Regions from separate parts of the Homo sapiens genome. Here regions 2, 3, 4, 5 and 6 are each linked to region 1. Evidence: promoter capture Hi-C in human tissues and cell types (Jung and others, 2019). All regions are on one chromosome and are shown on one strand. The core of a region is centred on a gene start or on the middle of the fragment in contact, and the rest is flanking DNA. Distances in the headings are between cores, read along the strand shown.

What was found. Contacts are between HindIII fragments. The study calls those that stand out against the background at their distance.
Region 2: a contact is called between a fragment that was not itself captured here and the fragment with the promoter of ADAMTS1 in region 1, in 1 of the 25 tissues and cell types used here (hippocampus).
Region 3: a contact is called between a fragment that was not itself captured here and the fragment with the promoter of ADAMTS1 in region 1, in 1 of the 25 tissues and cell types used here (bladder).
Region 4: a fragment that was not itself captured here is called in contact with the fragment with the promoter of ADAMTS1 in region 1 in 3 of the 25 tissues and cell types used here (IMR-90 fibroblasts, dorsolateral prefrontal cortex and hippocampus).
Region 5: a contact is called between a fragment that was not itself captured here and the fragment with the promoter of ADAMTS1 in region 1, in 1 of the 25 tissues and cell types used here (dorsolateral prefrontal cortex).
Region 6: a fragment that was not itself captured here is called in contact with the fragment with the promoter of ADAMTS1 in region 1 in 1 of the 25 tissues and cell types used here (IMR-90 fibroblasts).

What each region holds. Positions count from the first base shown.
Region 1 is chr21:26,843,307-26,847,944 of GRCh38, reverse strand. It overlaps ADAMTS1 (ADAM metallopeptidase with thrombospondin type 1 motif 1), which reads left to right and starts at 2,536. Exons shown (of 9, transcript NM_006988.5): 1 at 2,536-3,720. The coding sequence starts at 2,991. RefSeq lists enhancers at 1,152-1,751, 1,752-2,352. The HindIII fragment of the contact is 5,494 bases long and covers 1,526-4,638 here.
Region 2 is chr21:25,669,367-25,674,004 of GRCh38, reverse strand. The region is part of intron 1 of JAM2 (junctional adhesion molecule 2); the gene reads right to left. Among named protein-coding and RNA genes, the nearest start is that of JAM2, 32 kb to the right of the region's middle. The HindIII fragment of the contact is 4,887 bases long and covers 376-4,638 here.
Region 3 is chr21:25,705,925-25,710,562 of GRCh38, reverse strand. JAM2 (junctional adhesion molecule 2) reads right to left here. Exons shown (of 10, transcript NM_021219.4): 7 at 4,477-4,584; 8 at 1,114-1,129. The region is part of intron 1 of LOC124905002 (a long non-coding RNA gene); the gene reads left to right. Among named protein-coding and RNA genes, the nearest start is that of ATP5PF, 27 kb to the left of the region's middle. The HindIII fragment of the contact is 5,528 bases long and covers 1-4,638 here.
Region 4 is chr21:27,953,796-27,958,433 of GRCh38, reverse strand. No RefSeq gene overlaps it. Among named protein-coding and RNA genes, the nearest start is that of LINC00314, 57 kb to the left of the region's middle. The HindIII fragment of the contact is 6,895 bases long and covers 1-4,638 here.
Region 5 is chr21:27,936,308-27,940,945 of GRCh38, reverse strand. No RefSeq gene overlaps it. Among named protein-coding and RNA genes, the nearest start is that of LINC00314, 75 kb to the left of the region's middle. The HindIII fragment of the contact is 5,541 bases long and covers 1-4,563 here.
Region 6 is chr21:27,913,328-27,917,965 of GRCh38, reverse strand. No RefSeq gene overlaps it. Among named protein-coding and RNA genes, the nearest start is that of LINC00314, 98 kb to the left of the region's middle. The HindIII fragment of the contact is 7,334 bases long and covers 1-4,638 here.

The DNA of each region.
Region 1 (4,638 bases), core at 1,287-3,786:
AAGAATACCCTGCAGGTAGAAACACACTAAAGGTCAAACTTACGTTAACATATTTTTAAAAGCTAAAGTTTATGTAGAGAAGTTGATAGACTGAAATACATTACATATGTCTTTAAAGATACAGATTTTCTGCTGTTTTTGTCCCTTTTTGCCCCAATTTAAGGGAATCACATCTACCTTCACTCATCTTCATTCAGCCTCTGGGCCACCTCTCCTTGAGATGGAGATTATGAGTGTCCAAAATCTCCATCTCAAATCTCCATCTCAAAGCCACTCTGAGGCTGTAACTGTTGTCACCATATATTATCTTCTGAGCCCTTTTCTAAGCAAGAGGTTGAAAATGTACGGATGGCTTTGCCTTCAAGCTTTTGTGATCCCGCGGTCAATATCTTGAAAGTCTAACATGACTTTCCTCATATGTTCTCTCAAGTATCTTGCCTTTTTTCTAGCTAGAAAGAACCAGTAAAATGAAATGAAATCATAGAAAATGGACCGTCAAAAAATTACTGTAATAGAAGATAACAATGTTAAAAAAAAAAGTCTGAAAACCAAACTGGGAAGTAGGAATGATCAGATGTTTGGGAAAAGACGCTTGGGAAACAGAGAAACAGGAAGGAATAATCCTCGTAGTTCGAAGTCGAAGAGAAGGAGGTAGGCTGGACAATGCTTGACAATGCAGAAAGGAATCACACACTCAGGTGTGCGGATGTCAATGTTGAGTTTGAAGGAGAAATGCAACGGCGGGAGGGGGGGAGAGACAGCGAGGGCTGCAAAGGAGAGACTCAGTGAAAAGAGGTAGGCAGAAACACTATCAGAATGTTAATCGAGCGCTGTCAAAATATATCTAAGGCCTTGGTTGATTATTCAACGTTCAACGATGAGGGTGATTTTAGGAAACCAAAATTAAATCTACGAAACCACCCACTCCTAAATGTGTAGGGACTAGAGGTCGTTACTAAGCCCTTCAGAAGTAAGCTGAGTTGCTTCTCTCTGCCATTCTTGCTCATTTGATTTTTCCTGATGAGTGGAAAGCAATGTTTTTGTTTTTGTTTTTCAAGTAAGCAATCTCGCTAGGAAAAAAGAAGTTGGAAAGCATCCGGAAAAGAAAGCTTGTAAGAGGGACGTGTGGGAGAACTAGAAGGGACGCTTCTGGCTGGGGCCAACTGAAGTGGGGAAGATCTGGGGAGGAGCGAGGAAAGGACCCAGATCTACTTGGAGCCAACCAAGAGACCGGACGGGAGTGGGGCGGAAAGGCGGAGACCAGTTCGAGCACTAACGCGGGGGCGCGCGAGTGTGAGGGTTGCGGGTCCGCCCGGGGCTAGGGCGGTCGCTCTCGCCATTGTCCCCGCGGCTTTCCGCCTGTGAAACACGTCCTTCCTCTGGGTCCTTGAGCCCCTCCCACTTTTTGGAGAGAAGAGCCACTCAGTTTTTTTTCCTAAGGACCTGTTGGTGGACCTCTCCTCGCTTTCGTAACGCGGATATAGCCTTTTCCCTTCCTGGTAGGAAGAGGAAGGAGGGGTCCGGGAAGGAAGCCGATTTCCTTCTTTCCCCCTCTGCACGCTTGCTAGCCCCAGCGATCGCTGCTGGCCCCCGGGTAGGAAAGTGGGGTTCCTGGCCGTTTCTGCGACGCTGGCCTAGGGCTTGCAGCTGCTGTTGAGTGAAAGCACGCAGACTGGCGGGAGCCGATCATTTCTCGAATGAAGAAGAAAAAGCGCAATTCCCTCCTTATGCTCTAGGGAATTGAGCCGCGTCCCAGATCACCCATTCCAGAAATGTGAAACCGGGCCCTCACAAAGTCGTCTCTGGTGAAGAGGTGGCGTGCGGGGTGGGGGTTGGTGGAGGGTGAAGGCATAAGCAAACATATTTTAAAATCCAGATCGTAGGAAGTGTCACCTGGCCCCTCACCCAGGCATGCTTTCTGGGGGAAGCGCAGGGCCAAGCTTTCCCTAGAAAAGCTGGGGCGAAGAGAGAGCAGGCGGCGGCTAAGGAGCTCCTGGCAGGCTGGGAAGGTGGAGAAGTGGGGTGAGGTATTTTTCTAGAAAGTGTAGCCCTAGCTCATCTCCTAGATTGGGGAAGAGGGAACTGAGGGAGGAGGGAAGGAGACCCAGGGCAGCTCCAGGATAGGGAAATGTTGAAGAAGGGACTGCGTTCTCCAACCGAACCCTCCCTCCTGGGAACCGCAGCCCAGCGCGGTAACTGAGTTACCGCAACCGGGCGGTGGGGAGGAAGGGTGGTCCAGGAAACCGGCGAGGGAGAAAAGCGGTGGAAGGGAGAGTCTTCTCCCTGGAGCGGCCCCAGCAGTACAAAGTGCTGGTCACAGCGCCCCTTCCGCCCCTAGATTGACGAGCAGTGGCGTGGAGCCAGCGCGGAGGCTGCCCCCTCCCCCTCCCGAGCCCGCAGCGCGGAGCGCGGTTTAGCACCAACGGAGCCGGGGGCGGCGTCTTTGGGATGGAAAAGGGCCAAAGGGGAGGAGTGGGGTGGGGGTGGGGGTTTCACTGGTCCACTATAAAAGGACCGCTCGGCTGCCCGGTTCTTGCACTCGCTGGAAAGCGGCTCCGAGCCAGGGGCTATTGCAAAGCCAGGGTGCGCTACCGGACGGAGAGGGGAGAGCCCTGAGCAGAGTGAGCAACATCGCAGCCAAGGCGGAGGCCGAAGAGGGGCGCCAGGCACCAATCTCCGCGTTGCCTCAGCCCCGGAGGCGCCCCAGAGCGCTTCTTGTCCCAGCAGAGCCACTCTGCCTGCGCCTGCCTCTCAGTGTCTCCAACTTTGCGCTGGAAGAAAAACTTCCCGCGCGCCGGCAGAACTGCAGCGCCTCCTTTTAGTGACTCCGGGAGCTTCGGCTGTAGCCGGCTCTGCGCGCCCTTCCAACGAATAATAGAAATTGTTAATTTTAACAATCCAGAGCAGGCCAACGAGGCTTTGCTCTCCCGACCCGAACTAAAGGTCCCTCGCTCCGTGCGCTGCTACGAGCGGTGTCTCCTGGGGCTCCAATGCAGCGAGCTGTGCCCGAGGGGTTCGGAAGGCGCAAGCTGGGCAGCGACATGGGGAACGCGGAGCGGGCTCCGGGGTCTCGGAGCTTTGGGCCAGTACCCACGCTGCTGCTGCTCGCCGCGGCGCTACTGGCCGTGTCGGACGCACTCGGGCGCCCCTCCGAGGAGGACGAGGAGCTAGTGGTGCCGGAGCTGGAGCGCGCCCCGGGACACGGGACCACGCGCCTCCGCCTGCACGCCTTTGACCAGCAGCTGGATCTGGAGCTGCGGCCCGACAGCAGCTTTTTGGCGCCCGGCTTCACGCTCCAGAACGTGGGGCGCAAATCCGGGTCCGAGACGCCGCTTCCGGAAACCGACCTGGCGCACTGCTTCTACTCCGGCACCGTGAATGGCGATCCCAGCTCGGCTGCCGCCCTCAGCCTCTGCGAGGGCGTGCGCGGCGCCTTCTACCTGCTGGGGGAGGCGTATTTCATCCAGCCGCTGCCCGCCGCCAGCGAGCGCCTCGCCACCGCCGCCCCAGGGGAGAAGCCGCCGGCACCACTACAGTTCCACCTCCTGCGGCGGAATCGGCAGGGCGACGTCGGCGGCACGTGCGGGGTCGTGGACGACGAGCCCCGGCCGACTGGGAAAGCGGAGACCGAAGACGAGGACGAAGGGACTGAGGGCGAGGACGAAGGGGCTCAGTGGTCGCCGCAGGACCCGGCACTGCAAGGCGTAGGACAGCCCACAGGTAGAAGAATTGCTCTCGTTTGTCTGTCCATTCATCCTCCTCTCCTCACTTTATCTATCCCACGCGACTTCAGGGTAGACTCCTGCTGGCAGGCAGGATCATAAGTCCGCGGACAGAACGGAGGCCTGGAGTGGAGGAATGTGGTTTGAGGTTTGGATTGGTGAACTCAGCTAGAAAACATACTTGCATTTGCCCGAATAATGAATAACCAAGAAAAAAACTGACAAACGATTTTCTGCAAACTAAAGCAAAGCATTTAGGCCGGGGAGGGAGAGTTTGTAACCTGACTCCTTCCACCTTTAGCGAGTTGGAGCTTGTGCGAGTTCTTTCCACTCTGTGTATTTCTTTTTAATGATTTTGTGTGCGCCTTTTGTGCGGGTTGCAACGTTGCGCTGAGTTTTGTAACCGCTGCCTGTGCGTGCATCCTGCGCTCACGGGAGGGCGGATGTGGAGAGGGCAGAGGAGCAATGGTGACCTGGGAAGGTACCCTGAGCGGCTACGCTAGGATCTCTGTTCTGCAGACTTCTGTCCCCTTTCCCCCTTATAAGGCTGACCCAGGCGGGCTGAAGGCGGTGGGGCCCCTTCGCAGAACCTGCTTGGGAGGTCTTTCCCGGGTTTGCCCCGCCTCCCAGTTTGCACTCCCTCTCGCGGCCATAATTCTGCTCTCAAGCACTGTTGAAAGTCACTGCCGGTCCTTCCTGCTACGGCCTTCTCTCTGTGCAGTGCTTATTCTCCAGTTCTTTTTGTTTCATCACTTTGGTGCCTTTTTCCTTCTTTAACTCTCTCGCGTGTCATTTTTTAAAGAATTCTCCCCTTTTCCCCTGCTCCTCTGCTCCTGGGAGCAAAGTGGTCGCAGCCCAGTTTAGGACTTTCTGCAGGGGTTGGGTCTCAGTCCGGAGTGGAAGGCTCTGTTCCAAA
Region 2 (4,638 bases), core at 1,570-4,069, 1.2 Mb after region 1:
GGCAGTCAAGAGAGAATGAGAGCCAAGCAAAAGGGGAAACCCCTTATAAAACCATCAGATCGCGTGAGACTTATTCACTACAATGAAAACAGTATGGGGGAAACTGCCCTCATGATTCACTTATCTCCCACCAGGTCCCTCCCACAGCATGTGGGAATTACAGGAGCTACAATTCAAGATGAGATTTGGGTGGGGACACAGCCAAACCATATCAAGAGATATGACAATTGAGAGTAGTTAAATAAGTTGCTGGAGGTCACAGTGTTTTAGAAAGCAGGGAAGCCAAGATGTCCATCTGCTTAGTCTGCTCCACAGTCCCCTTTCCTCTCTCCCTGCCCTCAAATCAGTACAAGGCATTATGAGAAAGTAGCTCCAGACATAAGACCGCCAGACACACTGTAATGGCTTCATAGCCATTTTCAACCTTTAGGGTTGTAAAGATATTATTCAGAGAGTATACTACAAATTTCCATCTTAACAGAGACAGTGTTAATGAGTAAACGTTTATGGTGAATGAACTAATTTGAATAAACCGTGTATATTTATGCACAAAAGTTTTATGCCCTCTCCCTTTTCTGGTTCTTCGACAACTTAAGTATAAGAGGGACTACTGATGATTCAGAATTGAGGATAAAGTTATTTTCATATAAGTTACATGCATTACTAAGTTCAGGAAAACTTCCAGGGCATTCCATTGCACAAACAACTAGATTAAAATTTTTCAGTGATATTAGAAAGAGATGAAGTAATTAAATTAACTTCTCGAAGTAAAATAAATTCCCAAAAATTTCAAAAAAAATTGTCCTGCACATGTTCAATTGTGTAATGGTAGCCAGTGGTACAGGAAAACCATCAGTGGCTGAATGTCTCACCAGGCACTCCTCATCAGACATGAAGAAGCCATTTTAGGATTCTGTAGTCTTTGATTTTCCCCAAGTGACAATCTCAGCCAAACACAATTCATTTACCTGTGACATTAACTATAGATTTTAGATAGACGGCAACAGTCAATTCAAATCTAGTAGACTATCAAGACAAAATAAGGAAATACCCCTTCCAAAATGGATGCTAATAAGAGCCACATACTCAGTGGAAGCCATGGTTATTGGCCATTCTGTGTTCTAATTGCTTCTCCTTAAGAGTAAGTTACCAGAAAACAAAACGATGGCCCTAACACTTCATTAGTGGATAGTAGAAGAATATGAAAGATGTCAGACATCAAAACAGACACTTGGCGTAATGGCAAAGAGAGAAAGAACAACAAGCCTGGGTGCCCTCCTTACTAATGAGACATGGTCTGCGTTGTGTATAGGCGCACCTCTACAGCAGAGATGGTGCATCAGACTTTGAGAGCTATATAAATTAGGATTATTCATTGCTCTTTAATCTGAAATTGTAGTTACCTAACTCCTAGACCTAGATACAGCTTTTAAAGATTAAAAGTACAGAACCACTGCCAGCATTTGGCAGTTCTATTTCTCACTAGAAATATACTTACTCATTTACTTGTCAAATAAATCATTTTTAAGATTAGGTATTGTAAATCATTTCTCCAGAGTTTGATCAGCTCTGGGCAAGTGGTTAAAACTGAGTCTCTGAACCTGGATTTGAACTCTGGTTCTGAAATTCTGTGAGAATCTGTGCATCTCTGCACAAAACACCCTAACAGCTGATACACACCCAGATTTCTCAGGGGCTGTTTGGGTCAGGGATAGAGAAATAATTATTCCACAGGTATTTGTTACTTACTAAACCACCTGGATGTGGTGGCATGCACCTGTAATCCCAGTTACTTGGGAGGCTGATTTGGGAGTATTGCTTGAGCCCAGGAGTTTGAGACAAGCTTGGGCAACACAGCAAGACCCCACCTCAACAAAAAAAAAAAGAAAGAAAGAAAAAGAAAAATAGCTGCTTAAACAATGTATGTGACAAGATACATCACTACCATCTACTAAACTCTCTCCACCTCCCACGCTACGTAGATGTTTGGTATTGTTTCAAACTTCCTTTATATCTTTGTAGTTTTACTTCTCTGCTTTACTGAGTGAATTTCCACAATCACTAACAGTTTAATGTGTTTGGCAGAGATTAGCATAAAAAGAGATCAAAAGGATTCTCTAATATCACCAATCTGTTAAATGTATAATCTGCAAATGAGGTTATCTTAGCATTTCTCAAACAAAGAGAATCCTTTTCTGCTGGGCGCAGTGGCTCATGCCTGTAATCCCAGCACTTTGAGAGGCCAAGGCCAGCAGATTGCTTGAGGTCAGGAGTTCGAGACCAGCCTGGCCAACATGGTGAAACCCCATCTCTACTAAAAAAATACAAAAAATTAGCCAGGTGTGGTGGTGCACGCCTGTAGTCCTAGCAACTCAGGAGGCTGAGGCAGGAGACTCACTTGAACCTGGGAGGTGGAGGTTGCAGTGGGCTGAGATTGTGCCACTGCACTCCAGCCTGGGTGACAGAGCAAGACTCTGTCTCAAAGAAAAAAAAAATAAAGAAAAAGATAATCTTTTTCTAAAATAGGTTGTATATAATAAATAGGCACATAAAGGGATACAGGTTGACCATGAGTTTAATAAGGCTTAAGTTTTGGGACCAACCCTTACAAGAGTACTTACCAAGGCCCAAGTGAGGGTGGGTGGGGAAGGCTTAGCAATGCATGCACATTTTGTAAAATTTGCAAGAATAAGCATTTTTTTGTATTATTTTTCTTACACAGGGAACTAATATCCCACTCCACATAATTTTGGGCTTCTACTTATTAATGAGTTTACTAAGCTTTCTCGATTTTACCACCCACAAAGCTGGGAGAAAGAAATGGTCTCCACGGACCATGATCTGATATTCAGCCTTTAAAATACTAGAGATTTTATATGGCCAATGATTTAGCATGCACACTTTCTATCAAACTTCATTTCTTAAAATATGAGAGCTGTGTGAATTTTATTTTTCAACTTTCCTGCTGGAAGATGACTCATAAAATCTTGGCCCTTACATTACATACAAGTGTTATTAATTAAATTCTATTACCACAAGTGCTTACAGAAGAAATTTGAAAACCAAGGGAAACTTCCCAGCCATTGTTGCTTCATGCTTCCTTTGATTAGTCCTCAGGAAGCCAAAAAACAAGAACCATTTATTTTGAAGTGCAGAACATGGAAACAATGGTTTGGCATTGCTTAACTGTCATATTCACAATTGTCAGGCAAGATTCCTAAGAATTAGCTACCCTGATTTCTTGGGTCCTGTAAATCCAGGAACCACAATTTCCCTTTTCTTTTGGTAAAAACAGTTCTCTGACTTTTTTAGTTCAAAACTAGTCCTACACATCCAACTGTGAGCTAACACCAACACGCACTTTTTTAGGATCAGTGAACTAGACCAATAAAATAAATAATTTAGTGAATATCTGCACACATTAAAATCAGTGGGACCTTTGGAGCTGCTTCCTAGAATGGTCAGGAAATGAGTTTTTGTGCTATTGGATAAAGGTCAATTTTTTTTTTTTTAAATTTTGACACAGGGTCTTGCTCTGCCACCCAGGCTGGAGTGCAGTGGCGTGATCATAGTTCACTGCAGCCTTGATCTCCCGGGGCTCCAGCGATCACTGCACCTCAGCAATCCTGAGTAGCTGGGACTGTGGGCACATACCACCATGCCTGGCTAATTTTTGTGTTTTTTGTAGAGACAGGGTCTCTTTACGTTGCCCAGGCTGGTCTCGAAACTCTGGGCTCAAGGGACCTACCTACCTCGGCCTCCCAAAGTGCTGGGATTATAAGCATGAGCCACCATGCGCAGCCAAGGTCAAATTTTTGAAACTCTTTCAAATTGAGTATTGGAAAGAAGAACAAAGGTATTTGTGTCCAGATATGGTAGGCAAAAGTCTAATTGTCGTAATATAACTCAAGTGAAATGGCTGTTTGATGTTTGTCATAGCATGAAGAGAACTGGATTTATGACAGAATCTACCAAAAGTTTTGAAATTATTTAGAGTCAGCCTTAGCACATAATCTTAGCACTTAGTCTTAATAAGGTGGTATCAGAACTGACTTTACCCCCATTGGGATAAAGAACTAAATTGTATTCTACCACTATTATTTTCAGCAGCTTGGCTTTTTGAGTAAGTATCATCTAAAATTAAATAAAAGACAACATTAGAGTCTAGCAAGGTAAGAAAAGAGTAGTCTATTAGAGAAATGCAACTTAAGTCTTAGTCTTCATTATAGATGGAAACAGAATCATTCTGTCTTTAGGAAGTCATAACCCAGTATTTGAAACCCAGTGCTGTGAATTACTAGCCACGTCACCTTGGATAAGCTACAGCCTCAGTTTAAGTAAAATGAAGCTAGTAATGCCTTCCCTAGCTGGTTGTAAAGATGAAATAAAATCATGTACATAATTGCTTAGCCTACCTCTTGGCACACAGTAGATTCTCTATAAATACTTGCTTCTCATCCCTCTCCCCTCACTTCACATTGCTTTTTATCCAATGTGGTGACGCAGATAGAACATTTCACAAATGATTCTACAATAATCGCGTATGAGGATGTTCTATGAAAAATGAATTGTTAGGGTTATACTTTTCCCCCATCTTCTTTTTTTTTCTTTTTTTCTTTTTTTTCTTTTTTTTGAGAC
Region 3 (4,638 bases), core at 1,200-3,699, 1.1 Mb after region 1:
ATTTGCACAACTTGCTTCCTCACCCTCTTCAGGCCTTTCTCAAAAATCACTTAGTGAGATCCTTTCTGACCACCCTATTTGAAATTAGAATCTCTACTCCTACCCTTTGTATTGTATATTCTCTTATTTGTTTTATTTTTCTCCATAATGGCCCTATCTGATATACTATATAGTATTACCTGTTTATTTTCTGCCTTTCTCTACTAGAATGTAAGCTCCATAAGGCAGAGTTTTGTGGGGTTTTTGGCCTGTTTTGTTCACTGCTGTATCCCCATTCCTTAGAACAGTGTTAGGCACAAAATTGGTATTCAATTAATATAAAAAAATGACTGTTAACTAAAATTTTATTTGAAAATTTTCAATTTAGCAAAATACAGTAAATTTTTTTTAAGTTAGTTTATACAAATGCCTATGAAATCAAATTAGTGACCATATTTCTTGTCTGGGTAATCATCATTCTCTCTGTACTACCATTTACAAGTAGGCTGGGTAATCATCATTCTCTCTGTACTACCATTTACAAGTAGGTATGAAGTGTGAAGTGGGATGTTGATAGAGTCTGGATATTTGCCTTGCCCAAATCTTATGTTGAATTGTAATCCCCAATGTTGGAGGTGGGGTTTGTTGGAGCCGATTAAATCATGGGGGCGGATTTCTCATGAATGGTTTAGTACCGCCCCCTTGATGCTGTCCTCAGAATAGTGACTGAGTTTTCTTGAAATCTGGTTGTTTAAAAGTATGTGGCACCTCCCCAACCTTGCTCCTGCTTTTGCCATGTGACGTGCCTGCTCCCGCTTTGCCTTCAGCCATGAGTAAAAAGCTTCCTGAGGCCTCCCCAAAAGCCAAGCAGTGTTGGTGCCAGGATTGTACAGCTTGCAGAACCGTGAGCCAATTAAACCTCTTTTTACAATAAACTACCCAGTCTCGGGTATTTTCTTACAGCAATGCAAGAACAGCCTAATACAGATGTATTTCTTGATAAACTTGAGTAACTTCTTGTGAGAGTAAACCTACACAAATAACCCAACTTCTCTCTTTTGACTTTAAACAGATGATTAATAGAAAATTAGTTGACATAGGAGAAAGACATGCATTGTAGGAAAGTATACTTACTGGAAGGAGGTTTCTTCTACAAAAGAAAAAGTATATATCATTAATGCAAGGGTTATTATGGTATGATACAGATTCATATAAAAATGAGTTTGGGTTTAATTTATTTTTATTAATTTTAATCTTCACTTGCTGACGTTTATACCTTCTAAATTAAGAGTTGGCAAACTTTTTTGGTAAAGAGCCATACAGCAACCATTTTAGGCTTTGGGGCCAAGAGGATACTATATAGGTACTTAAGTAACAAGAGAGCAAACAAATTTCCAAACATTTTTATGGATAAAATAAAAATATAATAATAATAATAACAATAATAATAAAAGTCTTGAAAAACAGGCCTACTAGTTAGAGAAATGGAATGCTTTTGGGGAAGATAACATTTCTCTTAATTGGGGTTCAAAGTCAGCGGGCCCTATCATCAAATAGATTGTAAATGTTCATCTGTAAAGCCATTTTTGTTCATAGGCCATAGAAAAATAGGCGGGGAGGGCAGATTTGGTCCACAGATAGTAGTCTGCCAACCTCTGTCCTAAACATATATTCAAGAATATGCTTCTCTTGGATAGATTTTTCTGCTAGATGAAAAATCAGAGTAACATTCTTAGGTAACGAACTCCTAATATTCAAGTCAACTTTTAATTAATTCAATATTTTAGGAAAATTTTTTTACTAACTCCTCATTAAAAAAACTCAGACCAGTATTATTTTAGGCTATAGATAAAGATGACAAGAGTTTTGGAAGAGTTATCTTATTTGTCTGTACTTTCACTGATGACCAGCAGGGGGCCACAGCTGGATTCAATTCATAAAGTTACATTAAAGTGGGCTAAATTGAAGCACTGAACAAGTATTAATTGACAGAGCCGCTCTTTTTGTTTGTTTGTTTGGTCAGTGTCTTGCTCTGTTATCCAGCTTGGAGTGCAGTGGTGAGATTACAACTCACTGCAGCCTCGACCTTCTGCGCTCAAGCGATCCTCCTACTTTAGCCTCCTGAGTAGCTGGAACTAAAGGTGTGTGCAACGATGCCTGGCTTATTTTTTATTTTTTGTAAAGAAAGGGTCTCCCTATGTTTCCCAGGCTGGTCGTGAAGTCCTGGACTCAAGTGATCCTCCTGCCTCGGCCTCCCAAAGTGTTGGGAATGCAAGTGTGAGCCACCACACCCAGCCCAGTTATTCTTAATTATAGGGCATCTCTTTGAATCCATGTCCACGGAAACATTTTATGAGACATAATACCTAGTTGTAGGTATTATTAGGAACACATTTTATATTTAAGTTTATTTTTGGCATAAAATATATTTTTAAAGGCCAAGAGTGGTGGCTCACACCTGTAATCCTAGCATTTTGGGAGGTTGGGATGGGAAGATTCCTTGATCCCAGGAGTTCAATACCAGCCTGAACAACAGAGCAAGAACCTGTCTCCACAAAAAATAAAAGAAAATTAGCCAGGTGTGGTGGTATGTGCCTGTAGTCCCAGCTACTTGAGAAGGCTGAGGTGGGAGGACTGCTTGAGCCCGGAAAGTCAAGGCTGCAGTGAGCCTTGATCACACCACTGCACCAGGCATGGGTGACAGAGTGAGACCCTGTCTCAAAAAAAAAAAATTGTTTTAAAAATCTAAATTCCGAAATTAATGTTCGCTGTAAAACAATGGGTCTAGAACTTGTATATGCTATAAATTTATAATTCAATTAAGAATTTTATTTTACACACTATTGCCAGTGGCCCTGATAGAATGCTGCAGCTTCTGAGCTCTCCAATAATATTAAAGAGGGAGTGAAGAAATGCATTAAGAGAATAAAACATTTTTAAATCCCACCCATTTACATCAAACCTATTGCATTATCAAATGGAGGTGTGAAGTTACAAGAGGTCTAAATTTGAAGAATTCAAAACTGTGTACAGAAGTAGCTCTCATAAATACAATAGGTTTCTATTTTTGACTGAACAATTCTCTTTTTTTGTTGTTTTTTTGAGATGGAGTCTTGCTCTGTCACCCAGGCTGGAGTGGAGTGGCATGATCTTGGCTCACTGCAACCTCCACCTCCCAGGTTCAAGTGATCCTTCTGCTTCAGCCTCCTCAGTAGCTGGGACTACAGGTGCATGTCACCACTCCTGGCTAATTTTTGTATTTTTAGTAGAGACGGGGTTTCACCATGTTGGCCAGGCTGGTCTCGAACTCCTGACCTCAAGTAATCCTCCCGCCTCAGACTCCCAAAGTGGTAGGATGACAGGCATGAGCCACCACACCCAGCTGAACAATTCTCTTCTAAATACAGTTGTCCTAAATTTAACATTCAACATTTCACTGTTCTACACTGATGAAATATTTCACTTATTTATTTCAATGAAATTTCTTAAAGAATTTGAAATCAACTTATATCTTGAGATATACAATTCCTAACTTAAAAATATCTTGTCTGGGCGCGGTGGCTCACACCTGTTATCCCAGCACTTTGGGAGGCCAAGGTGGGTGGATCAGGAGGTCAGGAGATTGAGACCATCCCGGCTAACACGATGAAACCCCGTCTCTACTAAAAATACAAAAATTAGCCGGGCGTGGTGGCGGGAGCCTGTAGTCCCAGCTACTCGGGAGGCTGAGGCAGGAGAATGGTGTGAACCTGGGAGGTGGAGCTTGCAGTGAGCCGAAATTGCGCTACTGCACTCCAGCCTGGGCGACACAGTGAGACTCCGTCTCAAAAAAACAAACAAAAAAAAATCTTAAAAACATGCAAAGATACTATAAATATCCGTTCACATTGAATATCTCTGTCTCGCTGCACTGCACCACTCCAAGGATGCCTCTTGCATATTCTGTGGTGCTCCCTGGAATGTGCAACTAGGCAGTTCTGCCTTTTCTCCCTAGGTTTGCCAAGGTGTTTCATAAGCCACCTGCATGTCATCCTGAACATTTTCTATAGCAGAAAATAAATGAACAATATTCTCCAGAGTTTGTTAAAACTTGCTAGGAGAGGGCCGGGCACAATAGCTCACACCTGTAATCCCAGCACTTTGGAAGGCCAAGGCAGGCAGATCACTTGAGGCCAGGAGTTCGAGACCAGCCTGGCCAACATAGCGAAACCCCATCTGTACTAAAAATACAAAGATGAGCTGGGTGTGTTGGTGCACACTTGCAATCCCAGCTATTTGGGAGGCTGAGACATGAGAATCACTTGAACCTGGGAGGTGGAGGTTGTATTGAGTGGAGATTTTGCCACCACTGCACTCCAGCCTGGGCAACAGAGCAAGACTCTGTCTGAAAAACAAACAAACAAACAAAAAAACAACTTCCTAGGAGAAACAGTATCTCATAAATAAACTCCATAGCCATAGAAAGTTATCTGCCAAAGAAGGGTGAAATTCACTTACTTGAAAAGTAGCCTTTCCTCTGAGCATAGCATACACCAAGGCCACAAACGGAAATCACTAAGGCCACAACTACTACGGCTGCTATGATGCCACTTATGTTGAGATCATCTGGAATGTAAAATAAATTACGCATAAATATATGTGGATTACACGGACAGATGC
Region 4 (4,638 bases), core at 1,144-3,643, 1.1 Mb before region 1:
TGCTTTGATACACAGAAGTTTTTAATTTTAATGTCAAATTTATAAACTTTTTTATGCTTTGCACTTACTGCACCTTGTTTAAGACATTTTTCTTTACATTCAGATCAAATACATTGCTTATGTTTTCTTGTAAGACGTTAGTTTTTATCTTTTATGTCTATAATCTGCCGGGAATCTAATCTGTGTGTTCTGAGGATTTTGCGTGTGTGTGTGTGTGTGTGTGTGTGTGTGTGTGTGTAGGCAAGTTATGCAGAGATCAAATTTTATTTATTTTATTGTGAATGATTAATCGTTCCTGCAGCATTTGTTGAGTCTTTCTTCCCAGGCAAGTCATATATTAAGTATAAATATATGCAGGGATCCATCATTGGCTTCTATATTCTATTCACCTTATCTACTTGTCTATCTCGGCACCAATACTATACTGTCACTGCTGTATTTTAAACATCAATAAGTATGCCTAGCAAATAACAGATATTCAATAATTAATTGTTATATGCATGAATTAATACTGTTTTGTAATAAGTCCTGAAATATGATAAGATAGGTCCTCTCATGTCTTTCTTCTTCAGGAGTGCCTTGTCTAATTCCAGGGTTTTGATCAATCATGCACATTTTAGGTTCAGCTTATTAACTTACATGAAATACAATGTTGGTTTTTTTAGTTTATGGAAATCCCATAATTCATCTTCAACAATAATCAATATTTTGAAATCTTGTTTCGTAATACTACTTTTTTTTAGAATGCTTTAAAACACATTCCAGACATCATTCAATTTTGTTAATACATAATTTGGTATCATCACGAAGAAAACAGGAATTTACATAATTTTCATGCTGTTCCTAAGATCAAAATAAAAATTTAAAAAAAAATAGTGACTAGTCTAGTTTTCCCAATTATTTTAGAGATATTTTCTTACCATTGATTAGTTTAATAAGTTCTCAAAAAAGGGCTACTCATTACTTTGGCTATTTGGTTTCTCATGAGTTTCTCTCCTCCAACCTCACCTTTTCTGTTTATAGCAGGTTCTTTCTAAACTTAAAAATAATTTTCAAGACTATTTTTAAAATTTTGCTTTTCAGTTAAAGTATTGGGTACCTAGAATGCATAAGAAAGAACGATAATGAAGTTTCATCCAATAAGTAAGTTAATATCAATGAAGGGAACCTAAGAACTGAATTGGGTATTACTAATAGTAGTGATAAATTCCAGGGATCATCTCAAATAAACTTCCAGGTCTATAGTTCTAAAGATTAATTTAATAACTTTAATAGTGGAGGTAAATAGAAATGATTGACATTTTGTCACATGGCATTATATTTTGATTTCTCATAATTCATACCACGCACTATTCTTCCCCTTTTCATTTCCTCACTTCCCATTCTTCCCCTTCATCTTTTATCTATCTAAGAAATTCTGTCTCCAGGCTGCCAGAGCCATAAAAGTATCACCAACAAACAATAATGGCAATAACAGCAAAAGCAGTTGGAATTACTTCTGCTCATTTACAGGCATATGCCACAACCACAACCAAGACCCAAAATATATGCTTATTTTTGCAGGTGCACTTCTATTATTCTAAGACTTTATGATAAACATTTTAAAACATAATTTAGGAATTACCCATCAAACTCCTTTTCTTCAGTGAAGCAGAGGGAACATATTGCTCTTTAAAGGAATGAATTCTTCCGGAGCATGCTGGTATTTGTGATGGTTTTGTTTATTTCAAAGACTAATTCCCACTTCAAATAGAATTTTCAGGTAAAGAACTAATTTCTCTTCTAACATCCTTGGAAACTGGGAACTGGAAATTGATTGACATAAGCTTGCATAATGAGATTGAACCTAAATGCACATGCTTCTGAGAATATGTGATGGGTTTGACATTACTTTTAGGAACCAAGCTCTTGACCCAAAAAGCCACTTGCTTGTTAATAACACTCTTATGAAATACACAGAAGTTCATTATCCCTTGGGACTTCAAATCACCCTGCAAATACCTAGTCAGTCATTCTGTGTTGAAGTCATTTATTTCTCCTTAGTTTGAATAGCTAGAATCAGATCTAAATGTTCTCTCTAAAGAATTGTTTTTAATTGAAGAAAATAAACATTCTTTTAAAATGTTCTGGTGCATTCTTTTAAATACACCAGATTCTAATTTACTTTGCATGAACAAAGCGCAAATATCAGAAATACTAAAATCTATTTTGAAAGTTTGCACATAGTAAGCTAGTCCAGAATCTGACCAGAAATACCTATTTTTTACCTTTATTATTTGATAATGCTGGCAGCATATTAAAACAGTCCAATATCTGATGAGTGGTTCAAAACTAGCAAAGTATACAATTATCTAATCTGAAAAACCACTTTTTATTGATTGATTTGCGTGGTTTTTCATTCTTTGAAAGTAGAGATCTTGACTAAGACATTCAATCTGCGTAGCAGTCATAAAATTTAGTATCCCCTTTGTGACATGCTGTGTGTGGAAGGGTTGGGGAGGAGCTATTGATAATTTCTTAGGACATCGAGCACAAACCAGGACCATCCTGAGCAAAGTATATGGTCAGTATATACTTAAAGACAGTTTATAGAAGTGATGATAAATAATCCAAAGATGGTTCTATTGTCATAAACTTGAGCAATTTCCCCCCCAACACTCACTTAATTGGTTCTCTCCAATAAATATTCTTTCTTTAAAAGTTTCAACAAAGTTTTAAAGGTCTAACTTTTACTTTTGACTTATTCGTTTTGCCTGGAAGCACTAAGGCTTACAGTCTGTGGTGACTGGCAGTAAGAATCAACATGGTTTTCCTTTTTCTTTTTCTCCAGTGAAAACTATTTCCACTTTAAGTCTTCTGCACACGGCAATTAATGAGAGGAAATAATACTCCCTGACCAAATCACAAACATTCTGTATAATCATATAAGTTACTTTTCCAAGCTGCACAAATGATATGTTTCACATGCTGAGAATTGTTAACAAGTACAGTACTCAATACGCAATGTTAGAACTTACTTTGTTTAAAGCAAATAGACTGAGATAAAATATCTATCCCCTAACCCCAAGATGCTTACAATCTTCCTAGAGTTCAAGGCTTGCTTATAAAAACAACAACAACATCAACAACAAAGCAATAAGAGGCAATGAATGGCAATACAGATAATAAACACCAGAAAGAAGTTCGCTGTAAGTTGGTGTAGTTATGGAAATGATGATCTGTAGTTCGTCTGAGAGAGTTGCAAGATTCTAAACAGAGAGCTTTTTCAAAAAAAAAAAAAAAAAAGCATGGTTAAAGGTTAACAGCATCAAAACCACATTTTAAAGTGTTTGTAAAATGTGGTCTTAAAAGTCCCCAGGCATGGTTTTTGAAATCTTCTGGGTTGAGCTCTCGTTCAATAGGGAACTTGCCTTGCAGCAAAGCAGATGCACTTGAATCCTGCCCTGGGAAGAGACCTCCTCCAAGGGTTGAGGAAGAGTTTAGATTCTCTCAGCTGCATTCCATTTCTCTCTAGTCTCTGAAGACTGACAACTGGGGATTTGTAAAGTGGGCATTTATCCACCTCTGAGAACAGTTCTGGAACGATCTGTTCAATTTGGGCAAGCTACGGAGTAACCATCTGTGGGTGACTATTTTTGCATGTAATTTTGAATAAATTTAAAATAATGTCCTAGAGGCAAAATTCTCTTCTTTCTCAGTCACAAGTGATCCTGAGACAAATGGGCCCCCAGCTAGAACTGACTCACTCAAAATGTACAAACATCTCCAATGTCACCTCAACAACCTCTTTCTGAATATGAATTACTTTCCTCTACCTTGTAAAAAATAATTTATATTAGATACTGTCTCATCTTCCTGACATACTAGGGGTTCCTTTGAGGCTAATCATTTTTTTTTTTCTTTAAGAGATAGTCTCACTCTGGTGCCTGGGCTAGAGTTTATTCGTGTGATTATACCTCACCGTAACCTTGAACGCCTGGGCTGAACCCATCCTCCTGCCTCAGCATCCCTAGTAGCTGAGATTACAGGCCTGGCTAGTTTTTTTATTTTTTGTAGGGATAGAGTCTTGCTATGTTGCCCAGGCTGGTCTTGAACTCTTGGGCGCAAGCAATCCTCCCACGTTAGCCTCCCAAAGCGCTGCACCTAGCCCAGTGTTAGTTCTTAATATTGCTTCTTGAGTTTTATGTGGGATCAAAGTAAAATGGTGAGGTCTGGATTAAGTAAACAGAGCAGACATTATAAACAAAGGATGTTCCTATACAAAACAGGGTACCCGCCTTCCAGTTGTCTGCCCATCACCCAAGAATTTTGACTGTTGCAGGAAAAAAGTTTGCAATTAAAGATTGATTCCGCAATGCGACTCATCACAGTGTGAGACCAGCACTTTTTATATGATTGTTTGAAATATAAATTTATATAATTTTATTAGAGCAATTTGACAATATATGTTCAGAGATTTAAAAACATGTACACCATTGACTGTAACTCTTAACTCTGTAAAAAATGCTTATTCACATAAATAAAAATATCTTCAAAAAATATTTTTAAAATTAAAATAGTTATTTTAATTTTAATTTTATTTTCATTTTAGATTTAATTTTAAATTTAATTTTAATTTTAAAATTAGAATTCAGAGTG
Region 5 (4,638 bases), core at 544-3,043, 1.1 Mb before region 1:
CAGAGAACTGTTCTTTTGCTTCTAATTAAAACAGTCAGGGGTATTACTGATTAAAGGTGGGGAAGCAGAGAACTGTTTTCATTTTATTCCAAATTAGTTTGAGCTTACCCAAGATCAAAGAAAATCCAGACCTGAGAAAACAAACAGACCACAAGCAAGTAATTTGTTGACCTGATGCTATTTCCTGGAATTAAAGTTATTGTGGCCCTTTGAAAGGCTAGCTCAGCAATCATGAATCCATCAAAAGAGCGTCTAGCCAGGGAACATCTCAGGGTTCCCTGTTTCTGAAAGCACACTTTGAAATCTAGATTTTAGTAACACGAAGTCCAGTCCGAATATTATCAAAGGCTCAAACACAAGTGGATTTCAGTTGAAACATATATGCAAGCATACACAAACACACACACACACACACACACACACACACACACACACACAGCCCTGTGTGCAACAGTTTGCTTGTCTGGGGCTTTTGGTTGTATGTTTGTCATTAGGATAGCCTTCTGCTGCTAACAGCTCAGCCACTCCATAGGATGTGCTAGTGAAATGACCTCCTTCGGAGTTGACAATTACATCTATTTTCTTACTGTATTAGAAATATCAGCTTTTTTTTTCTAGAACCCATTGTTTTCATGACATTTCCTTTTTAATTTTTTTTTTCAGGGCAGTAATAAAAATCTACTCACTTAAAGTCCTAAAACTTTCGACTAATTTTCTTTTCATCCCAGATACTTGGATGCAAAGTAGAATTGAGATAGAGGATTGAAGAGAACATACAAGTGAATATTTTGGGCCTTATTGTGAAAATTTGGACAAAACAAAAATGGTCAAAAGCAAACATGTACGCTGTAATATAAATACATTTATCACCCATGCTAAATAAAGCACAAATCTTACATCATACAGTTCTATTTCTCATGATGTACACAACACTTTCTAAACTGAATGCTTAGTGGATATGTGAATTTTTAAAGTGCAACTGATATTTATATTTAAATGTTAAATTTAAGGGTAAAGATGAAGTCAAAACATTCTCACCAGTTATTTAATAGGTATAAGTGAGCTGAACCATAATAAGGAAAGAAAAATCTTTACATTCTACTCTAATGAGGAAGGAAAAATCCATACATTCAAATGAGTTTGGGTATCAGAACTCCAGGGTCAGACTTTTGGAAAATAATGAGACCGATAGATATGCAAAGAGATACTTAAAATTAAGTATTACATGAGATATTTAAATTGCTTGCTGGTCCTTTGAGTCATCTCTCTTTGGTGGTGCTTTGAAAATTGTCTTTATCAGAGAATTTTTGAATGGATATTTGAAGAGCTCAATAAATATTTTATGCTATCTATTTTGTGACTTCTGTACTTAGGATAGATGAAAAAAGAAAATGAAAGAGAAAATGAAGAATGAGAGAAAGGCAAAGACACTTTGTCCAAAATTTAACAGAGCTATTTTAAAGAAAATTGTCTTAGCCTAAATGTGACTTTAAAAAAATCTTTCATATGTTACTCAAGAAATGAAATATATAGTAACATTACATTTATACCTCTTTTTACTTAATGTATATTTTATTTTCATTTATTTTCTGTTTTTTAAGGAAATCATAAAAAGTACTAAAATTTATACAATTTTCTACTGACTTGCCTCCTCTGTTCCAAATCTCTGTGCTAAATAATGGATAGATAATTGTGTAGTGTGGCGCTTAATCACTTGTGACTTTAATACTAGAACCCTTGAACCAATAGACCTGAATAAACTCAAACACTAGAGACTTGTAAAAACATATTTTTTAAAACATTCATACGTCTTCTTACAATGCAGTATAGGATTCCTCATTGATAACTACATTAGGATGCTTAGCAAGTTCTAAATGAATTCAGAGAAAGAAGCATTGTTATGGTGTTTATTAGCTTGCTTGCTTTCTTTCTGTCTCTCTCTCTTTCTTTTTTTCTTTCTTCCTCTTTCTTTTTTTTGAGATGGAGTTTTGCTCTTGTCACTCAGGCTGTAGTACAATGGCGTGACCTCGGCTCCCTGCAACCTCCACCTCCCAGGTTCATGCCAATCTCCTGCCTCAGCCTCCTGAGTAGCTGGGATTACAGGCATCCACCACCATGCCCAGCTAATTTTTGTATTTTTAGCAGAGATGGCGTTTCACCATGTTGGCTAGGCTGGTCTCAAACTCCTGACCTCAGGCGATCCGCCCATTTCGGCCTCCCAAAGTGCTGGGATTACAGGCGTGAGCTACCGTGACAGGCCTGTTTATTAGGTTTCTATTGTGCAATAACAAATTACAGTCAATTTAATGACTTGAACAACACAAATGTATTATCCAAAATCCAGCAAAGGTTTCAAGCAGGCTGTATCCTTCTCAGGAGGCTCTAGAAAAAGCCTGTTACCTCATTTAGGCTGTTGGGTGAGTACATATCCTTAGTGGTGTAGGGTGGAGGCTCCCATCTTTTGGCTGTCTCAAGTGAGGGCCATTTCCAGCTCCTGGAACCACCTATATTCCTCACCTTTCACCCTATTCTTCCATCTGCAAAGCTAGCAACATTAAAGCTTGTCCCTCTCACTCTTTGAAACTCTTTCCTTTTTCCTGTCTCATCTTGCTCTCTGGCCCAGCTAGGAAAGATTTCCTGCTCTAAAGAGATTATATCATTAGATTGTTATCTATCTAGATAATCCAGAATAATTGTCCATCTCAAGAATTTAATAGCACCCACAAAGTCCTGCTTTCCATGTAAGGTAACAGATGAATAGATTCTGGTGACTAAGTCATAGGCATTTTTGGGAGGCTATTATTCTCTCTAACACAAGTTGTTAAATGATGCAAAGTTTCTAAGGGAAGAGGTAGACTAGTTTTTTTTGTTTTGTTTTGTTTTGTTTTGAGACGGAGTCTTGCTCTGTCGCCCAGGCTGGAGTGCAGTGGTGCGATCTCAGCTCACTGCAAGCTCTGCCTCCCGGGTTCAGGCCATTCTCCTGCCTCAGCCTCCCAAGTAGCTGGGACTACAGGCGCCCCCCACCACGCCCAGTTAATGTTTTGTATTTTTAGTAGAAACGGGGTTTCATAGTGTTAGCCAGGATGGTCTCGATCTCCTGACATTGTGATCCGCCTGCCCTTGGCTTCCCAAAGTGCTGGGATTACAGGCGTGAGCCACCACGCCCAGCCTAGGTAGACTAGTTTTAAGAGAACATAGAACTAAAAAAATGTGGAAAAATACTGTGGCTTGAAGCTGTCATTATAATTAAGCACTATTGATGCATCGATGTCTCACACGGGCAAACATTTTTTTTTTTAGGCAATGAGCAACTATGTACAAATTATTTATGTAGAATGGTGGGTATCAGACGGTATTGAGAGAAGAAGTAATTTGTGCAATCTTCAGCTTAAAACAAGGTTTCTTTCATTGAATTTCTTTTTAAATTTTGGCTGCATCTAATAATTATCTACTCTAGACTGTATCTACGTAGAAAAACAATGTCTGACAATAAATAGATGCCATGAGAGCCAAAAGTGTAATTACAAGTAAAATAGCAGAGCCTCTGTCCTCATGGAATTGTTTATTTATTCGATTCGGATTTGCACATATTCGTAATGAACTAAGTAATTGGATAATTAAATTCACAAGATTTTTTAAACTTTGTTTTAATTTACTTCTCCATAGCACCAAGTAGATATGAAAGAAATACTGTTGCCAAATAAATGGGTGAATTGCTTCCCAAGTACAAAGCACATGCTTGAAAATTTAGGGCCACCAAAATGTTTTATAAGCAAAAAAAAATCTCTTTCAAATTCCATCAATTTGTTGGTAAGTTGTATCCTGAGAATATAAAGCATAACATGCACTTTGCTGACTGCTAAAGATAGAATTATAAACAAGGTAAAAGCAAGTATGTATTTTGTGTGAATTTTTCCATTCCTTATTCAAAAAAGATTAAGAAAGCTTATGACTTGAGCATTTTAGAGTATGGTGAGGAACACATATAAATATAATGTGAGTTCTACTAAGATTTACAGCTTGGGAATTTATAGATAACATTAAATAATGGGAAAATTATAATAGAATACACATAAAACAGATAGATATAATCACATATCTTTGGATATCCATCAGAGAGCAATGAATCTACCTGAAAGACTCATGCAAGCCTTTCCCAAAGTTTTGCATTTTAGCCATTTAATCACCTCAGAGAGATAAGAGAAGATAATGCATCCATAAAACAAGAAGAGGATGATACAAACACCAGAGAATAGAAAAGGTCTCAGAAATGGCATCTATAATACAAAGGAAACAGTCAATAAAAAGATTAGAAGATAAACAACATACAGTATAAACTGGAAGGATTTAAAAATCAAAGGTAAAGAATTATAATGTTAGAATCAATCAAACCAGTAGATTCAATATCCAAGTAATTTGATAGAGAAAAATGAAGAGAGGAAATCATTCAGTCAATTGATGAAAGTTCCTGAGAACTGGACAGGTAGAAATGAAACAATTAATACAAAGATTGGAAGGTAAACTTGAGAAAACCTCATACAACATACAGTACAAACTGGAAGGATTTAAAAATCAAAGGTAAAGAATTGTAATGTTGGAATGAATCAGTGTAGTAGATTCAATATCCAAATAATTTGA
Region 6 (4,638 bases), core at 645-3,144, 1.1 Mb before region 1:
GGATAACAGTGGTGACATAAGTAACTTTGAAAATAAATGGAGATGAGTCTGTAATAGTAAAGGCAAAAGAAACTACATAAGCACCATATTCTAGTTGAAAAGGGTGTTTACACAGGGGTACAGATTAACAATCCTCATACCACTATACAAACATAATGGAGTTGAACAACTATATAAATGATTGTCTGACAGTGGCTGACAGGCAGTTTTCTTACTTTTGGAACGAGAGATTGCAGTGACCAAGGAGATACGGCTGGAATTATCCATGTGTTATTACAGTAGACTTCAATACACCAGTATGAACTTACATTTTGCTTAATATAGATATTTCTGGCTATAGAAATATAGATATATTTATTAATATGTGTATATACATGGGTTAATATACTCACACATTTTTTTTTCTCTGTCAGTTGAGATAGTCTGGAAGCATCAACACTGAAGTAGCAATAAGCCCACTTAGCACTTAGATCTTGGTTCCTAATACTATTCTCTGTTAAAAGGAACCATGAATCTTTGGAGAAATGGCTGGTTCTAGGATTGAGTCAAGAAATATAGGAGATGTGCTTGGAATACCTTGTAGGGGTAGAAGGCAAGCAAGTGCAAAAAACCAAAACAAACAAACAGAAATACTCACAATGATAGAATTGTGTCAAAGACACACAAAAGACACAGGAGCCAACTAAAATAGCTCCCAATGGCCAAAGCTAGAACACCTTGAAAAACAAAATAGTGTTAAATACTGAATATAAACCCCAGCTTAAAAAATATATTTGTGAGTCCATACAAATATGTTGCAATATAAATAAATGAATAAACAAATAGGAGAGAAGAGACAAATCTCTGATGCAGAAAATTTCGAAGTAATTTACATAAAGAGTAAAAGTAACATAGATGAGTATCTACATTACACTCTGCCCTCAAGGAGGTAGAGAATAAGCCCTCATTCTTTAAATGTAGGCTGTGCAGTGACTTCCTCCCAAAGACTACAGTGTAGAAAGGGGGAAAAAAGTAAGTTTATGGTCAAGGAAAATGACAAACTCTATCAGCTACGTGATCAAGATTAACATCAACAGTAATACATTTTAGGTGCTCTTACCTCACACGCAAAAACAATGTAAAGTGATAGATACATTAATTTGCTTGATTATGCTAATTATTTCACTATGTATATCAAGACATGTTGTACAGTTTAAACATACACAATAAAATCAGTGGTAGATTATACTTACAGTATCTACTTTTAATGTAATGTGATGAGAATTACACTTTACCTTGTGGTCTTCCTTTTAAAAACCAATAACCTATGTCTTATGATGAGAAAAGCATTAGAAAAAACCTGATTGAGCATTCTGCGAAGTACATGATGAGTACCCCCTCAAAACTCTCAGGTCATTGCATCAGTCTGTTTACTCACTGCTGATAAAGACATACCCAAGACTGGGAAGCAAAAGAGGTTTAACTGAACTTACAGTTCCACATGGCTGGGGAGGCCTCAGAATCATGGCGGGAGGCAAAAGGCACTTCTTACATGGCAGCAGCAAGGGAAAATGAGGAGCAAGCAAAGGGGAAACCCCTGATAAAACCACTGGATAGTGTGAGACTTATTCACTATCATGAGAATAGCATGGAAATGACTGTTCTCCCATGATTCAATTACCTCCCCCTGAGTGCCCCCTACAACATGTGGGAATTCTGAGAGATACAATTCAAGTTGTGATTTGGATGGGGACACAGCCAAACCATATCATTCCACCCTGACCCCTCGAAATCTCGTGTCCTCACATTTCAGAACCAATCATGCCTTCCCAACAGTCCTTCAAAGTCTCAACTCATTCCACCATTAACTCAAAAGTGCACAGTCCAAAGTCTCATCTGAGACAAGGCAAGTCCCTTCCACCTATGAGCCTGTAAAATCAAAATCAAACTAGTTACTTCTTAGATACAATGGGGGTACAGGTATTGGGTAAATACAGCTGTTTTAAATAGGAGAAATTGGCCAAAACAAAGGGGTTACAGGCCCCTTGCAAGTCCAAAATCCAGTGGGGAAGTCAAATCTTAAAGCTTCAAAATGATCTCCTTTGACTTTAGTTCTCACATCCAGGTTATGCTGATGCAAGAGGTGGGTTCTCATGGTCTTGGGCAGTTCCACCTTTGTGACTTTGCAGGGTACAGCCTCCCTCCCAGCCACTTTCATGGGCTGGCACTGAGTGTCTGTGGCTTTTCCAGGTGCATGGTGCAAGCTGTCGGTAGATCTACCATTCTGGGGTCTGGAGGACGGTGGCCCTCTTCTCACAGCTCCACTAGGCAGTGCCCAAGTAGGGACTCTGTGTGGGGGCTCCAACCCCACATTTCCCTTCCACAGTGCCTTAGTAGAGGTTCTCCCTGAGGGCCCCACCCCTGCAGCAAACTCGCCTGGGCATCCAGGAGTTTCCATACATCTTCTGAAATCTAGATGGAGGTTCCCAAACCTCAATTCTTGACTTCTGTGCACCAACAGGCTCAACACCATGTGCAAACTGCAAAGGCTTAGGGCTTCCACCCTCTGAAGTCACAGCCCAAGCTCTACATTGGCCCTTTGGAGCCACGTCTGAAGCAGCTGGGACACAAGGTACCAAGTCCACAGCATGTGGACCCTGGGCCTGGCCCACAAAACCACTTTTTCCTCCTCGGCCTCTGGGCTTATGATGGGAGGGGCTTCCCTGAAGGTCTCTGACATGGCCTGGAGACATCTTCTCCATGGTCTTGGGGATTAGCATTAGCCTCCTTGCTACTTATGCAAATTTCTGCAGCTGGCTTGAATTTCTCCACAAAAAAATGGGTTTTTCTTTTCTACTGCATTGTCAGGCTGCAAACTTTCTGAACTTTTATGCTGTTTCCCTTCCCAAACAAAATGCTTTTAACAGCACCGAGTCACCTTTTGAATGCTTTGCTGCTTAGAAATTTCTTCTGCCAGGTATCTTAAATAATCTCAAGTTCAATATTCCACAGATCTCTAGGGCAGGGACAAGTGCTACTAGTCTCTTTGCTAAAACATAACAAGAATCACCTTTGCTCCAGTTCCCTATAAGTTCTTCATCTCCATCTTAGACCACCTCACCCTGGACCTTATTGTTCATATCACTATCAGCATTTTATCAAAGCCATTCAACAAGTGATTGGATGGGGACACAGCCAAACCATATCATTTCACCTCAACCCCTCGAAATCTCGTGTCCTCACATTTCAGAACCAATCATGCTTTCCAAAATTTCCCCCATTTTCCTGTCTTCTTCTGAGCCCTCCAAACTGTTCCAACCTCTGCCTGTTATGCAGTTCCAAAGTTGCTTACATATTTTGGGTATCTTTTCAGCAACTCTCCACTCTACTGATATAATTCAAGTTGAGATTTGGGTGGGGACACAGTCAAACCATATCAGTCATCAAAAACAGAAAACCTCTAAGAAATTGTCATGGCCCACAGTAGCCTAAGGAGACATGACAGAAAAATGTAATTTTATTCTTGATGGGATCCTGGGACAGAAATCTAAAGCCAAGGAAACCTGAATAAAGTGTAGACTACTGTTAAAATAATATACTTGTATTTGTTTATTAATTGTAAAAAAAGTTACCATACTAATGTATAATGTTTGCAACAATAAAAACTCAGTGTGGTGCACATGAAAACTCTGTCGCCCTCACAGTTCTTCTGTAAGCCTAAAACTATACTAATTTCTTACAAAGTTTAGGATTCATATATATTTTTTCATATATGTACTCATATACATATAGATACTCTTTATCCATTTATCTGTTGATGGACACTTAGGTTGATTCCATAGCTTCACTATTGTGAATATTGCTGCAATGAATATGGGAGTGCAGATATGTCTTTAATATACTGATTTCCCCTCTTTGGATATATAGCCAGTAATGGGATTGATGGATTACATCGTAGTTCTTTTTTTTTTTTTTTTTTTTTTTTTTTTTTTGAGACAGAGTCTTGCTCTGCCACTCAGGCTGGAGTGCATTGGCATGATTTCGGCTCACTATAACCACCACCTCCTGGGTTCAAGCAATTCTCCTGCCTCAGCTTTCCAAGTAGCTGGGATTACAGGCATGCACTACCGCGCCAAGCTAATTTTTGTAATTTTAGTAGAGATAGTGTTTCCCCATGTTGACCAGGCTGGTCGAACTCCTAACCTCAAGCGATCTGCCGGCCTTCACCTCCCAAACTGCTGGGATTACAGGCTTTTTTTGTTTTGTTTTATTTTGTTTTGTTTTTGAGTAATTTCTATACTGTCTTCCATATGGCTGTACTACTTTACATTCCCGTAACAGTGTATGAGCGTTCCCCTTTCTTTGCATCCTAGCTAACATATTTTATTTATTTCTATTTAATAATAGCCATTCCAACTGGGATGAGTTGATATCTCATTGTGGTTTTGATTTGCATTTCCCTGATGATTGGTAATAGTGAGCACTGTTTTTGTATTCTTGCTGGCCACTATTTAGCCATAAAAAAATGAAATCTTGTCATTTGCAGCAACATAAACAGAACTGGAGGTCATTATGTTAAGTGAAATAACCCAGGCACAGAAAGACAAACATTCCATGTTCTCACTCATATGGGGGAGCAAAGAAAGTGGATTTCCTTGA